Regions from separate parts of the Homo sapiens genome. Here all the other regions are linked to region 3. Evidence: promoter capture Hi-C in 16 types of primary human blood cells and fetal thymus (Javierre and others, 2016). All regions are on one chromosome and are shown on one strand. Each heading gives the region's core, a stretch centred on a gene start or on the middle of the fragment in contact. The rest is flanking DNA. Distances are from core to core; before and after follow the strand shown. Region 1 has its middle 65 kb from the start of USP29. Region 2 overlaps ZIM3 (zinc finger imprinted 3). Region 3 holds the start of ZNF667 (zinc finger protein 667). Region 4 holds the start of NLRP8 (NLR family pyrin domain containing 8). Region 5 has its middle 20 kb from the start of USP29.

Evidence for each region. The method cuts DNA at HindIII sites, captures the fragments that hold promoters and counts their contacts. A CHiCAGO score of 5 or more calls a contact.
Region 1: a fragment that was not itself captured here is called in contact with the fragment with the promoter of ZNF667 in region 3 in 4 of 17 cell types (total CD8 T cells, activated CD4 T cells, naive CD4 T cells and 1 more); the score reaches 5.9 in total CD8 T cells.
Region 2: a fragment that was not itself captured here is called in contact with the fragment with the promoter of ZNF667 in region 3 in 1 of 17 cell types (naive CD4 T cells); the score reaches 5.3 in naive CD4 T cells.
Region 4: a contact is called between the fragment with the promoter of NLRP8 here and the fragment with the promoter of ZNF667 in region 3, in 6 of 17 cell types (naive CD8 T cells, monocytes, M0 macrophages and 3 more). The highest score is 8.9, in naive CD8 T cells.
Region 5: a contact is called between a fragment that was not itself captured here and the fragment with the promoter of ZNF667 in region 3, in 1 of 17 cell types (non-activated CD4 T cells). The highest score is 5.5, in non-activated CD4 T cells.

Annotation. Positions count from the first base shown.
Region 1 is chr19:57,053,716-57,056,415 of GRCh38, forward strand. No RefSeq gene overlaps it. Among named protein-coding and RNA genes, the nearest start is that of USP29, 65 kb to the right of the region's middle. The HindIII fragment of the contact is 194 bases long and covers 1,240-1,433 here.
Region 2 is chr19:57,137,097-57,139,796 of GRCh38, forward strand. It overlaps ZIM3 (zinc finger imprinted 3), which reads right to left. Exons shown (of 5, transcript NM_052882.1): 3 at 1,376-1,502. Among named protein-coding and RNA genes, the nearest start is that of ZIM3, 6.8 kb to the right of the region's middle. The HindIII fragment of the contact is 498 bases long and covers 1,088-1,585 here.
Region 3 is chr19:56,476,018-56,478,717 of GRCh38, forward strand. ZNF667 (zinc finger protein 667) reads right to left here and starts at 1,328. Exons shown (of 7, transcript NM_001321356.2): 1 at 1,255-1,328. ZNF667-AS1 (ZNF667 antisense RNA 1) reads left to right here and starts at 1,857. Exons shown (of 2, transcript NR_036521.1): 1 at 1,857-2,364. The HindIII fragment of the contact is 7,484 bases long and covers 1-2,700 here.
Region 4 is chr19:55,946,465-55,949,164 of GRCh38, forward strand. NLRP8 (NLR family pyrin domain containing 8) reads left to right here and starts at 1,368. Exons shown (of 10, transcript NM_001433706.1): 1 at 1,368-1,805. The coding sequence starts at 1,439. The HindIII fragment of the contact is 8,931 bases long and covers 1-2,700 here.
Region 5 is chr19:57,098,230-57,100,929 of GRCh38, forward strand. No RefSeq gene overlaps it. Among named protein-coding and RNA genes, the nearest start is that of USP29, 20 kb to the right of the region's middle. The HindIII fragment of the contact is 7,444 bases long and covers 1-2,700 here.

The DNA.
Region 1 (2,700 bases), core at 87-2,586, 580 kb after region 3:
GTCTTTCTAGTTCATTCAAAGAGACGTTCCTCGTAGGTGCTGGTGTGCCTTCAACATTTCCGTCACACTTGCTAATTACTTTTTAAACAAAGGAGAGCTTTGCTCAGATCATTGGCAGGCGATGGCATCTAACCCAGGGTTTCCAGTCTCAGCACTGTGGACATTTTGGGCTGAATAATTGTTTGGTGGGTGGGCAGGAGGGCTGTCTTCTGCACTGTAAGCTGATAAGCAGCACCCCTGGTCTCTACCCCCTGGATGGCAGGAGCAAGGCCCTCTTCCCCACGTGTGACAACTAAAGACATCTCCAGACACTTCCAGATGTCCCCAAGTAGACAAAGCCACCCCTGTTTGAGAACCACTGGTTTAGGCACACTTGTGCATGTTGTTGTTGTTGCTGTTGCTGTTTTTTATCATTGTTCTTTCTTTTACTCTGTCTTCCACTTAAGGGAGGTGACGCTGGCTTTCCATGCATATTCATGATATCAAAACTTTAAAATGATTCTCACTCGGGTGTTTAAAGTTAATGTTATAGGCCAAGTGCAGTGGCTCATGCCTGTAATCCCAGCACTTCGGGAGGCCGAGGCAGGCGGATCATTTGAGGTCAAGACCAGCCTGGCCAACATGGTGAAACCCTGTCTCTACCAAAAATACAAAAATTAGGTGGGCCTGGTGGCACACACTTGTAGTTCCAGCTACTCAGGAGACTGAGGCAGGAGAATCACCTGAACCCGAGAGGCGGAGGTTGCAGTGAGCTGAGATCACACCACTGCACTCCAACCTGGGCAATAGACTAAGACTTTGTCTCAAATAAATAAACAAATAAATAAAAATAAAAGTTTATGTTATAGAACAACGGTAAATAGCACCTCATGGCCTAGTTCTTAACACAGATGGGGCAAAATTTCTGAAAAGTGAACAGACAGGTAACATCTATCCCACTGATCACTTCTCCCATTAAATGTCAAGTAAACTTTCTAAATTGCAAATCTGACCATGTCACTCTGCTATTCTAAACCCTGCTGCCCTCTGGAAAAAGTTTTTTTTTAAGCATACTTAATTCTTATTCTGAAGCACATTTAAAAGAAAGAGAGAATTGAAAATGAAAAATTTTGCTTAATTCTCAGTATACTCAGAGCTGCAAAAATCTACTGGTTTCTTGGGAAGAGCATAAAATATTCATAAAGCCTATAATTATGTCTTTGGTCCCTTTATCTAAGAGCTTCCTTCCGTGGTAAGCAAAGCTTACAGGCATTTTCCCACCTAGAATCGTTTTATTGTAAGCACCCATCTTTGAATTACGAGTGATAAATATGACATCTCAGAAATCACCAGTAATATATTTGAGGTCAACCACCTAAAGGAGCCTTCACCTAGAAATTCCCAAACTAACAGCTCTTTATGACGTATAGAGCCTATCTATAATTTCCCATTCAAGCTTGTGTTCGGATTGGGCCAAATATCTGCACCACTTGTAGCTAGATGTGGCCATGCAACCAAGGTCTGGCCAATAGGATGAAAGCACATGTATGGAGTGTGGACTAAGAGAAGCCTTAAAGGGAATATTGGGGGTGGAATCTTTCTTTGCCTCACCTCTCTTCCTCTTAGCTAGAAGGCAGAAATGCTGCCTGAATTCAGCCAGCTCTCTAGACAGTGAGGTAGAAGCCACCTGGTGAAGAATTCAGAATAACAAGACAGAAGGAGCCTAGGTCCTGTGTTCATTAGCTCCAGCTGCCATAACAAAATCACACAGACTGAGTGGCTTAAACAACAAAAATGTATTTTCTTACAGTTCTGGAGGCTGCAAGTCCAAAATCATGGTGCTGGCAAATTCTGTTCCTGGTGAGGACTCTCTTCCTGGCTTGCAGATGGCCACCTTCTTGCTGTGTCCTCACATGGCAGAGGTGGTGGGGTAGGGGAAGAGACCTGAACTGGTGTCCCTTTTCTTATGAAGATACCGGTTATATTGACTTAAAAGCCCACCCTTATGAAGCTTATATAATCTTAATTACCTCTCTAAAAGCACTGTCTCCAAATACAGTCACATTGGGGGTTAGAGCTTCAATGTAAATTTTGGTCAAGGAGCACCATTGAGGTCATAGCAGCCTCTAACAGCATAGAACCCTGAATTAGACTAAGATTTCTGCTACACAAGAGCAAGGGATGATTAAATCCCATTCAGTAATTAGGATCACCTCTCACCGACTCACATTCACACACACTCTAAGACACACAACTCCCAGCCACATGCCGAGCATGGTAACCCCATTTCCTACTTTAACCTTTGGGGGAGCCTGGGAGGTGGGAATCATTCTTATCCCCTGTCCAAAGTGGAGAAATGGAGGTCCTGAAAGAGCAACTCTCTTGGCAGGGTTGGAGAGTGAGTCTGTGCTGTCAAATGCCTCATGTGTGCATTTCTGACAAGATACAGAGTAATCTGAGGGTGGAGGAGGCGTGAAGGTGAATGGCAACCTAGACAAAGAACTGGGAAGAGATCGACGGAAATCTGTTCCTAAAAGCCCCATGCGTATGTTTATTGCAGCACTATTCACAACAGCAAAGACATGGAATCCATGTAAATGCCCATCAATGGTAGACTAGATAAAGAAAATGTGGTACCTATATAACATGGAATACTACACAGCCACAAAAAAGAAGGAAAACATGTCCTTTGCTGTAACATGAAGGGAGCTGGAGGCCATT
Region 2 (2,700 bases), core at 87-2,586, 660 kb after region 3:
TATGTCAGTGTGTGGGTATGTGCCATTGGTTGGGGGGAGTTGTGTGGATGGATGGTTTGAGGGAATGCACCTGAGCAGTCGAACTAAACAAAGAATGCTTTTTCTGGGCTGGGTGTGGCGGCTCATGCCTGTAATCCCAGCACTTTGGGAGGCCGAGATAGGAGAATTGCTAGAGCACAGGAATTTGAGACCAACATGTTACATGTAACATGAAGATAGCAAGACCCAGTCTCTACAAAACCAAAGCCACGTGTGGTGGTGCACGTCTGTGGTCCCAGCTATTCAGGAGGCTGAGGTGGGAGGATGGCTTGAGCCCAGGTCAATGTTGCAGTGACGCCAGGCGTGGTGGTTCATGCCTGTAATACCAGAACTTTGGGAGGCTGAGGCGGGCCGGTTATCTGAGGTCAGGAGTTCAAGACTAGCCTCACCAACATGGAGAAACCCCATCTGTGCAAAAAATACAAAAATTAGCCAGGCATGGTGGTGCACGTCTGTAATCCCAGCTACTCGGGAGGCTAAGGCAGGAAAATCACTGGAACCTGGGAGGCGGAGGTTGCAGTGAGCCGAGATCACACCACTGCACTCCAGCCTGGGTGACAGAGCGAGACTGTCTCCAAAAAAAAAAAATACTACAGTGAGCTATGATTGCACCACTGCACTCCAGCCTCGGTGACACAGCCAGACCCTGTTAGGAGAAAGGAGATAAAGAAAGAGAGAGGAATGGAGAGAGGGAGGGAGGGAGAAAGGAAGGAAGGAAGGAAGGAAGGAAGGAAAGAAGGAAGGAAGGAAGGAAAGAAGGAAGGAAAGAAGGAAGGAAGGAAGGAAAGAAGGAAGGAAGGAAGGAAGGAAGGAAAGAAGGAAGGAAGGAAGGAAAGAAGGAAGGAAAGAAGGAAGGAAGGAAGGAAAGAAGGAAGGAAGGAAGGAAAGAAGGAAGGAAAGAAGGAAGGAAGGAAGGAAAGAAGGAAGGAAGGAAGGAAGGAAAGAAGGGAGGTAGGAAGGGAGGAAGGGAAGGAGGCAGGGAGGGAGGGAGGGAGGGAGGGAGGGAAGGAAGGGAAAGAAAGAAATGCTTTTTCTTCTTGGAGGATAAAGCTTTTCCAAAAATCAAGACCAGGAGTAGGGTGAAGGGCAGGGCACCCAGCCCACAAAACTTACAGAGGCCCTCACTCATTCTCCCGGCACTTGCCGACCCTGAGAATGGGGGCTCCTTCAATACAGCACTTGGTACACTTCACTTGCCTCACCCTAGTCCCGGCTCTACAAAAACATATGCGAAGTGAGGAGCACCTCTGTGCCAACCCTATTTGGCCAGCCATGGGGTGTCTGTGTGTTTCACGCCTTAGGTTTTGAGTCCCCCTGCCCGGGAAGCCGTCCTTACCCACAGAGACAAGGTTGCTGTAATTCTCCAGCATCACATCCCTGTACAAGTTTCTCTGTTCGGGATTCAGCCGCTGCCACTCCCCCTGGGTGAAGTTCACAGTGACATCCTCGAAGGTCACTCTTCCCTGTAACAACAGATTCCCGATCAGTATAAAAATGCCATTGAATCCTGCGGCTGAGGATACAGAAACTTGTTTCTGCTGAACCAAGCTTTAATCATGTCCATAATTCACTCTACTCTGGATGAAAATAAATTGTGCCCAGAGGATCTTGCCAATGAGCCATAAACCTTAGACCTACTCATGACACTGCCATCTTTCTCCACCCTCTAGTCCCACCAATTTTACTTCCTGAATCTCAAACCCAGCCATTAGTTTCCATCTTCTCCACCATTCATAAATCCACCTTGTCATCTTTTACTTAGAGTAAGGCAGAGGCCGAGTATGGTGGCTCACACCTATCATCCCAACATTTTGGGAGGCCGAGGCAGGAGGATTGCTTGAGGCCAGGAGTTTGAGGCTAGCTGGGGAACATAGCAAAACCCCTATCTCAAAGAACATTTTATTATTTTGGCCGGGCACGGTGGCTCACACCTGTAATCCCTGCACTTTGGGAGGCCGAGGCGGGTGGATCACCTGAGGTCAGGAGTTCGAGACCAGTCTGGCCAACATGAAGAAACCCCATCTCTACTAAAAATACAAAAAATTAGCCAGGCATGGTGGCAGGCGCCTGTAATCCCAGCTACTCAGGAGGCTGAGGCAGGAGAATCACTTGAACCCAGGAGGTGGAGGCTGCAGTGAGCCAAGATTGCGCCACTGCACTCCAGCCAGGGCAACAAGAGCAAAACTCTGTCTCAAGAAAAAAAAGAAAAAGAAAAAGAAAAGAAAAGAAAATGTTATTATATTTTTTTTCTATTTTCCATTTTTCTTTAAGACATCCTGCCTCTATTAGAAATTCTTTTTTAAATAGAGGCCTGGCATGGTGGCTCACACCTATAATCCCAGCACTTCAGGAGGCTGAGACAGGTGGATCACCCGGGGTCAGGAGTTCGAGACCAGCCTCGTCAACATGGTGAAACCCCATCTCTACTAAAAATACAAAAATTAGCCAGGTGTCGTGGTGCGCGCCTGTAATCCCAGCTACTCAGGAGGCTGAGGCAGGAGAATCGCTTGAACCCTGGGAGGTGGAGGTTGCAGTGAGCTGAGATCACACCACTGCACTCCAGCCTGGGTGACAGTGAGACTCCATCTCAAATAAATAAATACATAAATAAGTAGAATAAGCCAATAGCCCCCTAATTCTTCCAGCTACATCTAAACTGAC
Region 3 (2,700 bases), core at 78-2,577:
GATGATCATTGATGTGGCACTTCCTTGTGCCAAGTTCTACTTATGCTCACCATAAACCTGAGGTTGGTTCTGTTATTACTACTGTTTTACAAGTGAACCGAGGAGTGGTGGACTTAAGTAAGCTCTCTCAGTCACACAGCCAGCCAGTGGTGAAACCAGGAGTCAACACCAGACAGCGGGGCGCCACAGTCCATGCTCTTATTTTTCCAAGCTACCTTGGTAGGAAGGGGACACAACCATACTTAGCGTCAGTGGAGGGCTCTGTCCTCCACTCAAATGTACACATGCAGAAAACTGACGACGCAGGTGGTTGGCGGGGGCAGCGCACCACTGCTCAACTGGAGATGGTCAGATGCCCTGGTATGTGGACAAAGATAGCCCAGTCCGAAGCTCAGAGATGCAAAGTCCTCCAGTATTCACCACTACCTCTGCCTCTGTATAGGGTCAAAGAAAAACGACCACCAGCACCATAACCAACACCTAAACACGGTGATTAGTATGTGACAAGCTCTGTGCAGGGTGTTTCAGCTACGTCATCCCATTTAATCTTCCCAATAACACCCAGGCAGGTGCTATTAATATGCTATTTTACCAAGGAGGAAAGTCATGCACAATTAAACAGTTCCACAGATTTCCAGGGCAGCCCATCACATCTTAGAGCTGCTAAGAATTCTTCCCCTGTGGGCCTCCATTTCCATGGTTACAGTGAGATATACACCAGAAAGGCACAGTCACACACTCATAACCGCAAAGCCACTGACGCTAAGTGGCAGACAGACGCCCAGGCAAGTCACACAGTAACCCAAGGCTACAATAAACGCCCACATCAGCCTGACACTGACACACGCACACACTCCAGAAACACAAATCTTCACAGTCAGCGTCACACACCCACTCCCGGCTTCCCAATGGCTCCATTGTTTCCTTCGCGTGGGTCACGCAGCGATACACATCCGCGGTCCCGACATAGCTCCCTCACACACAGGCACACACGGCTCGCCTCACACGCGGCGCCAACTTCACACTTGGGCGCACAAGCCCCGAGAACCACAGCAGCGAAGGGCGCAAACCCCACGCCGTGGCGGGCCGAGAACCCACGCAGGCGCGAGCCCACCGCCCACGCAAGCACCCGCGCAGACGCCCACGCCATCGTGGATGCGCAAACCCACGCGCGCCTTGGCAGGAACGTCCACGCAGTGGCGGGCGCGCCGCCCACGCCCTCAGACACACCCACACTCTCGCCAGCCCCCTTACCTCGGTCTTCCCGGGCTCAGACCCCGGCGGCGACCACCGAGACAGCCGAGCAGGGACTCAGCGCCTGCGCACTCCCCTCCGGGACCCCGGGACCGCGCGCTGCACCCCCCTTCACACACGCACCACGCATGCGGGCGCGTGGCCCCGCCCCCAAACAAGGCCACGCGGCGTGCGCTCACCCGCCTCTCGGGGACAGTACCACCAGCCCCGGCCTGAGGCCCCGACCCCTCAGCGCCACACGCACAAGCGCGTTCGCACGATTGGTGCAGGCGGACGCGCGAGGTCCCGCGCCTGCGCACACCCCCGAGGCTGGCACGCACACCGGTCTCCTAGGGGACTGGCGCCTGGCCCTGCTTTTCATCCTCTCAGGAGATCACGTGTGGACACTGAGGCCCTTCCTCGAGCTCTTTAACCAAACCCAACCTCCCCAATTCGCCGCCTTCCCCGCTCCCACAACCACACGTTCCCGTGTGAGGGCTTATTGCCTCCAGCCAGCCAGCGTCCTTCGCCCCCACATTCACGAGGTTTGGAGCCGGCCTCACCCGCGGAGGCGGACACCGCCCACCCGCGCGTGCGCACTACGCAGTCATCCTGCGACCTCCAGAATCCACCGGGGTGCAGCGAGGCTGTGGAAAGTCCCACCCAGAACGTGAGGTGAAGAAGGCTTGGGCTGCGCTGGTTCTGCTCTGTCCGGGTCGGAGATGAACTGACCCGGGAGAGCAGCGGAGGGATGTTTCTTTTGGCCAACAGTGGGGACTCACCTGCACGTTTTGCGAAGAGGCCCACAGTCCTTTGCGTGGCGCTCGGACTACATTTCCCAACGGCCCCTGCACGCCCTGGGGGCTGTTCCATGCGGTGTTGCGCCTGCGTAGCCGGCGGGCTGGCAGTGAGACTGACTGCGTCGGGGTTGAGACTGGGTGGATGAGGCTCACCCCGGCGGGGAGAAGGGACGAGGAGGGGCGGACAGCGGAAGGTCCGGGAGTGTCCGCCATAAAGTCGTTTGAGGTGACCGTTGCGTAATTGTGAGTCTGTGAGAGAAGATGTGAAGTATGGCCTCGTCCCGGTCATCTGGGCGTGCGGGTCCCGGGTTTTGATCGCGCGTTTGTGTAGGTGAGACCCACATTGTGTTACCCTGAACATGTGTGAGGACGAACCTTTGTGTTTTCTTATACGTGTGTCTCTGAGGCGATTTTTGTGGTTTTGTACGTGGCGGGGGGCACTGATTTTGAATATGTGTGTATGTTCTGGACATTTGTTTAGCTTCTGCATCCACTTCTGCGGAAGGGCAGAGTTGAGTAGGTGGGAACAGGTACTGTGTGGCCCCACAAAGCCTGAACTATTTACTGTTGACTCTAGAGCCCAGTTTTTGCGGTGTGTACGTCTCTGTGGGGAACCACACATTTTGAATATGTATACTTGTGTATATTTACGTCTATTCTATGACTG
Region 4 (2,700 bases), core at 118-2,617, 530 kb before region 3:
AAGTAAATAAATAAATAATAAATAAATAAACTATTATTGGAAGTTGGGGCAGGGGGGACAAAAATACACCCATGATCCTTTTTATTTTATTTCTTTTTTACATTTCTTTTAGATACAGGGGTACATGTGCAGGTTTGTTATATAGGCAAACGTGTTATGGGGGTGGGTTTGTTGTACAGGTTATCTCATCACCCAGGTATTAATCCCAGTACCCATTAGTTATTTTTCCTGATCTTCTCCCTCCTCCCACCCTCCAGCCTCTAGCAGACTCCAGTGTGTGGTGTTCCCTCTATGTGTCCATGTGTTCTCATCGTTTAGCTACCACTTATAAATGAGCACATGTGGTATTTGGTTTCCTGTTCCTGTGTTAGTTTGCTAAGGAATAATGGTCTCTGGCTCCATCTATGTTCCTGCAAAGGTCATGATCTCATTCTTTTTTATGGCTGCATAGTATTCCATGGTGTTTATGTACCACATTTTTTTATCCGGTCTATCACTGATGGGCATTTAGGTTGATTCCATGACTTTGCTATTGTGAGTAGTGCTGCAATGAACATACACAGGAATGTGTCTTTATAATAGAATGATTTATATTCCTTTGGATATATATCCAGTAATGGGATTGCTGAGTTGAATGGTAGTTCTCTTTTTAGGTCTTTGAGGAGTTGCCCCACTGTCATCCAGAGTAGTTGAACTAATTTACACTCCCACACACAGAGTATAAGTGTTCCTTTTTCTCTGCGACTTCACCAGCATCTGTTATTGCTTGACTTTTTAATAATCACCATTCTGACTGGTGTGAGATGACATCTCGTTGTGGTTTTGATTTGCATCTCTCTAATACATGATCCATTTTTTAAGAATACAGCATCTGTTATTGCTTGACTTTTTAATAATCACCATTCTGACTGGTGTGAGATGACATCTCGTTGTGGTTTTGATTTGCATCTCTCTAATACATGATCCATTTTTTTAAGAATAAAAACTTTGTTGAATTTGAGATCACTTTTAATCTAATGGAGCCTTCTAACCAACCATATATTTTCTAGATTTTAGCTTCACTGAATTATTTTACCTGCTTCTAATTTTTCTTTTCGCTAAACCTTTTGTGAAGGCTTTGATATTTTGCTTGCCTCTTCCCCAAAAGAAGTCATGGAGAATAGAAACTACAAACAATCCATTAGTCTAATGGACTAATCCCAAACATTCCATGCATCTTCAGTTTTTCCATAGGGCAGAGAATCTTTGAGGAAAGGAGGTAAAGGGAGTACCCGGCACGCAGAATACCTGCCAAGTAAGCATTACACGAATCTGTTTTCTTGGGTAGTGTTTTCATCTTCTTGTTTTATTGTTTTATGTCTCTGCAGGTCTCGTGTTTCTCTCTTCCAATCGGTTGTCTTTATCGTGGACACTGAGGTGTTCTCTGCCTTGACTAAAGATGAGTGACGTGAATCCACCCTCTGACACCCCCATTCCCTTTTCATCCTCCTCCACTCACAGTTCTCATATTCCGCCCTGGACATTCTCTTGCTACCCCGGCTCCCCATGTGAAAATGGGGTCATGCTGTACATGAGAAACGTGAGCCATGAGGAGCTACAACGGTTCAAGCAGCTCTTACTGACTGAGCTCAGTACTGGCACCATGCCCATCACCTGGGACCAGGTCGAGACAGCCAGCTGGGCAGAGGTGGTTCATCTCTTGATAGAGCGTTTCCCTGGACGACGCGCTTGGGATGTGACTTCGAACATCTTTGCCATTATGAACTGTGATAAAATGTGTGTTGTAGTCCGCAGAGAGATAAATGGTGAGTGTTGATCTGGTGGATAAAGTGGGGGTGGGCTTGGCTGCTGGGCAGCTAAACTACTCTAGTCACCACCCCTATCACTTATTGGCCTTCTGAGCAAGAAAGCAAACAGTGGAGGAAGATAATGGATCTAACCCAAAGGCAAAGACTGTCATACGGGCATTTTTTTAATTTTATTTTTCTGAGATGGGGTTTCGCTCTTCTTGCCCAGGCTGAAGTGCAATGGCACAATCTCGGCTCACTGCAAACCCCGCCTCCCAGGTACAGGTGATTCTCCTGCCTCAGCCTCCTGAGTAGCTGGGATTACAGGCACCCACCACCATGCCTGGGTAATTTTTTTTTATTTTTAGTAGAGACGGGGTTTCACCATGTTGGCCAGGCTGGTCTCGAACTACTGACCTCAGGTAATCCGCCTGCCTTGGCCCCCCAAAGTGCTGGGATTGCAGGTGTGAGCCACTGTGCCCAGCCCATATGGGCCTATTTTTTAAAAACTTAACTGAATACTGCTTATATGAGGTGAACGTTAAATGAAGTCATAGAGAAGTAGGAAGTAAAATAGTGGAAAAGCATATGCTATGGAAACAGCAGAAGACAGCTGGTATAGCTATGGTGATGTCAGGAGTGCTATATTTAAAGCAAGAAGGTTAAACACTTTAAAAGGCCATTTCGCAGCAACAAAGGGTGAATCCCACTGGAGGATATTGTAATCCAAAACCTCATCTTCAATATGAATAAAGCAGAGCTGGACTACAGTCATCCCCTTATCCAAGGTTTTGCTTTCTGAAGTTTGGGTTGATCATGGCCAAAAATAGATGAGTACAGTACACTGAGATATTCTGAGACAGAGAGAGACCACATTTACATACCGTTTATGATAGTATAGTATTATAATTGT
Region 5 (2,700 bases), core at 64-2,563, 620 kb after region 3:
GTCTCCCTTAGCTCTGCACTGGGGTTGCCCAATTTAATAAATAAAAATACAAATTGCCTGGTTAAATATGGATTTCAGATAAACAATAAAAAAGAATCAACTTTTATTTTAGAATCGACTTAGATTTGGCGAAAAGTTGCAAAGAGAATAGAAAGTTTTCCTTGTTCCTGCACCCAGCTTCCCCTGTTAGTAGCGTCTTACACGAGTATGATTTATCTCAATATTAGTGAACTGGCCAGGCACGGTGGCTAACACCTGTAATACCAGCACTTTTGGAGGCTGAGGCAGGTGGATCACTTGAGGTCAGGAGTTCGAGACCAGCCTGGCCAACATGGTGAAACCCCATCTCTACTAAAAAATACAAAAATTAGCCAGGCGTGGTGGTGAGCACCTGTAGTCACAGCTACTCAGGAGACTGAGGCATGATAATTGCTTGAACCCAAGAGGCAGAGGTTGCAGTGAGCCAAGATTTTGCCACTGCACTCCAGACTCGGCAACGAGTGAGACCCTGACTCTAAAAAACCGTAAAAATAAAAATAAATAAATAATTGCCAAGTGTGGTGGCTCATGCCTATCTATAATCCCAGCATTTTGGGAGGCAGAGGTGAGCAGATCACTTGAGCCCAGGAGTTCAAGACCAGCCTGGGCATCATGGCAAAAACCCTTCTCTACAAAAAATACAAAAATTAGCTGGGTGTGGTGGTGCAGGCCTGTAGTCCCAGCTACTCGGGAGGCTGAGGCAGGAGGATTGCTCAAGCTGGGGAGGCTGCAGTGAGCCAAGACAGCGCCACTGTACTCCAGCCTGAGCCACAGAGTGAGACCCTGTCTCAATAGAAAAACAAATACATAATAAATACATAAAACGCCCATGGCAGGGACACACACGCTGGTTTGGGTTGGAGCCAGCCCGTAAACCCAAATTTGGGGGCCCGGGCTCTCGGCTGCTGCAGCACTGACTACCGTTAAGGTACAATAAAACTGACACATGGGCAGTGAGGGGAATTTGCTCTCCTGCCTCCCTCCCTAAGTTCATCTGCTGAGAAAAATGCTTTGAGATAAACCTGGAGCCACAGCTCTCTGCACAGTCAGATCGCAGGAACGCGGCCTAGCTGCTTCAGCCACGTTCTCGCGGCGCCACCTGGTGGCCATGGACCGCCATCGCCGCTGGACGTCAGGGCCGCCAGGCCCAGCGAGATGTCACCTCCTCTGAGGAGCCTTCCAGGATCGCACCCGGCACGCGCTCCACGCCTCGTTGTCTGTTCTTCGGAGCACCGACCATGATCACAAATCAGCTCGCTCGCTGTGTTTCCTGCCGGGTCGCTACCGCCATGATCCGCACGTAGTGGTCAAGGCTGAGGTTGTATGAATGTGGACGTTATAACCCTGGCTCCCTCTCCCTCCCTATGCTGGGCTCCCCTCGATCCCCAGGCGGTGGGGTGCCCCTGGTTTTTCCTTTTTAAAATTATAAGTCTGGCCGGACGCGGTGGCTCAGGACCGTAATCCCAGCACTTTGGGAAGTCGAGGGAGGGTGTATCACTTGAGGCCAGGAGTTCAAGACCAGCCTGGCCAACATGGTGAAACACCATCTCTACTAAAAATACAAAAATTTGCCGGGCATGGTGGTGTGCGCCTGTAACCCCAGCTACTTGGGAGGCTGAGGCAGGAGAATCGCTTGAACCTGGGAAGCAGAGGTTGCAGTGAGCCGAGATCTCCAGCCTGGGTGGCAGAGTGAGCCTTCGTCTCAAAAAATAAAAAATAAAAAAAAGGTTAAATCAATTTAAATGTCAATGTCCACAGGAGCTACAGATGGTACCAATAGCTCCCAGCTGGGGCTCGTGTATCATTGGTCAGGGCTTCATCAGGATTGGCTACTGCCCCACCCTTGTTAAACATTTTTAATATCTTCCTTGTCTACCAGGGTCAGGCACCTCAGGTAGATGAATGAAGGATGGGGGGGATGGGGGAGGGAGATGGAAGAGGGAAGGGAAGCAGAGGGAGGAGGAGTGAGTGGGCAGCCCTGATCGGAGGTCCCTCCCCATCCCATCTAAAGGGGCTCCCTGGCCGGGCGCAGTGGCTCACACCTGCCATCCCAGCACTTTGGGAGGCTGAGGCGGGTGGATCACCTGAGGTCAGGAGTTCAAGACCATCCTGGCCAACATGGTGAAACCCCGTCTCTACTAAAAATACAAAAAGTAGCCGGGTGTAGTGGTTCATGCCTGTAATCCCAGCTACTCTGGAGGCTGAGGCTGGAGAGTCGCTTGAACCTGGGAGGCGGAGGTTGCGGTGAGCCAAGATCGCCCCACTGCACTCCAGCCTGGGCGACAGAGCGAGATTCCGTCTCAAAAAAATAAAAAATTAATAAAATAAAAATAAATAAATAAATAAATAAAGGGGCTCCCTGCTCTTCTGCTCCAACCTGTGGCTGCCGCATAGGAACATGGGTCACAAAACCCAGAAATCTGGATTCCTTTAAGTGAAATCTTCCAAATTTTATGTTTAAGAAGGTCATGTATTTATTCCTTCCTAAAGACCATGCTGACCAAATCAAATGAGTCTGTGGATAAGTGTGTCCAGGCTTCAGACTACTCCCTTTTGGAGCCTGTGGTGTAAAGGGAACAGCTTAAAGTCCCTCGCCCCAGTCAACAGGGGAATTTAATGTCTTGGGTTCCCTGGCAGAACTTTTCTGTTTTTTTTTTTTTT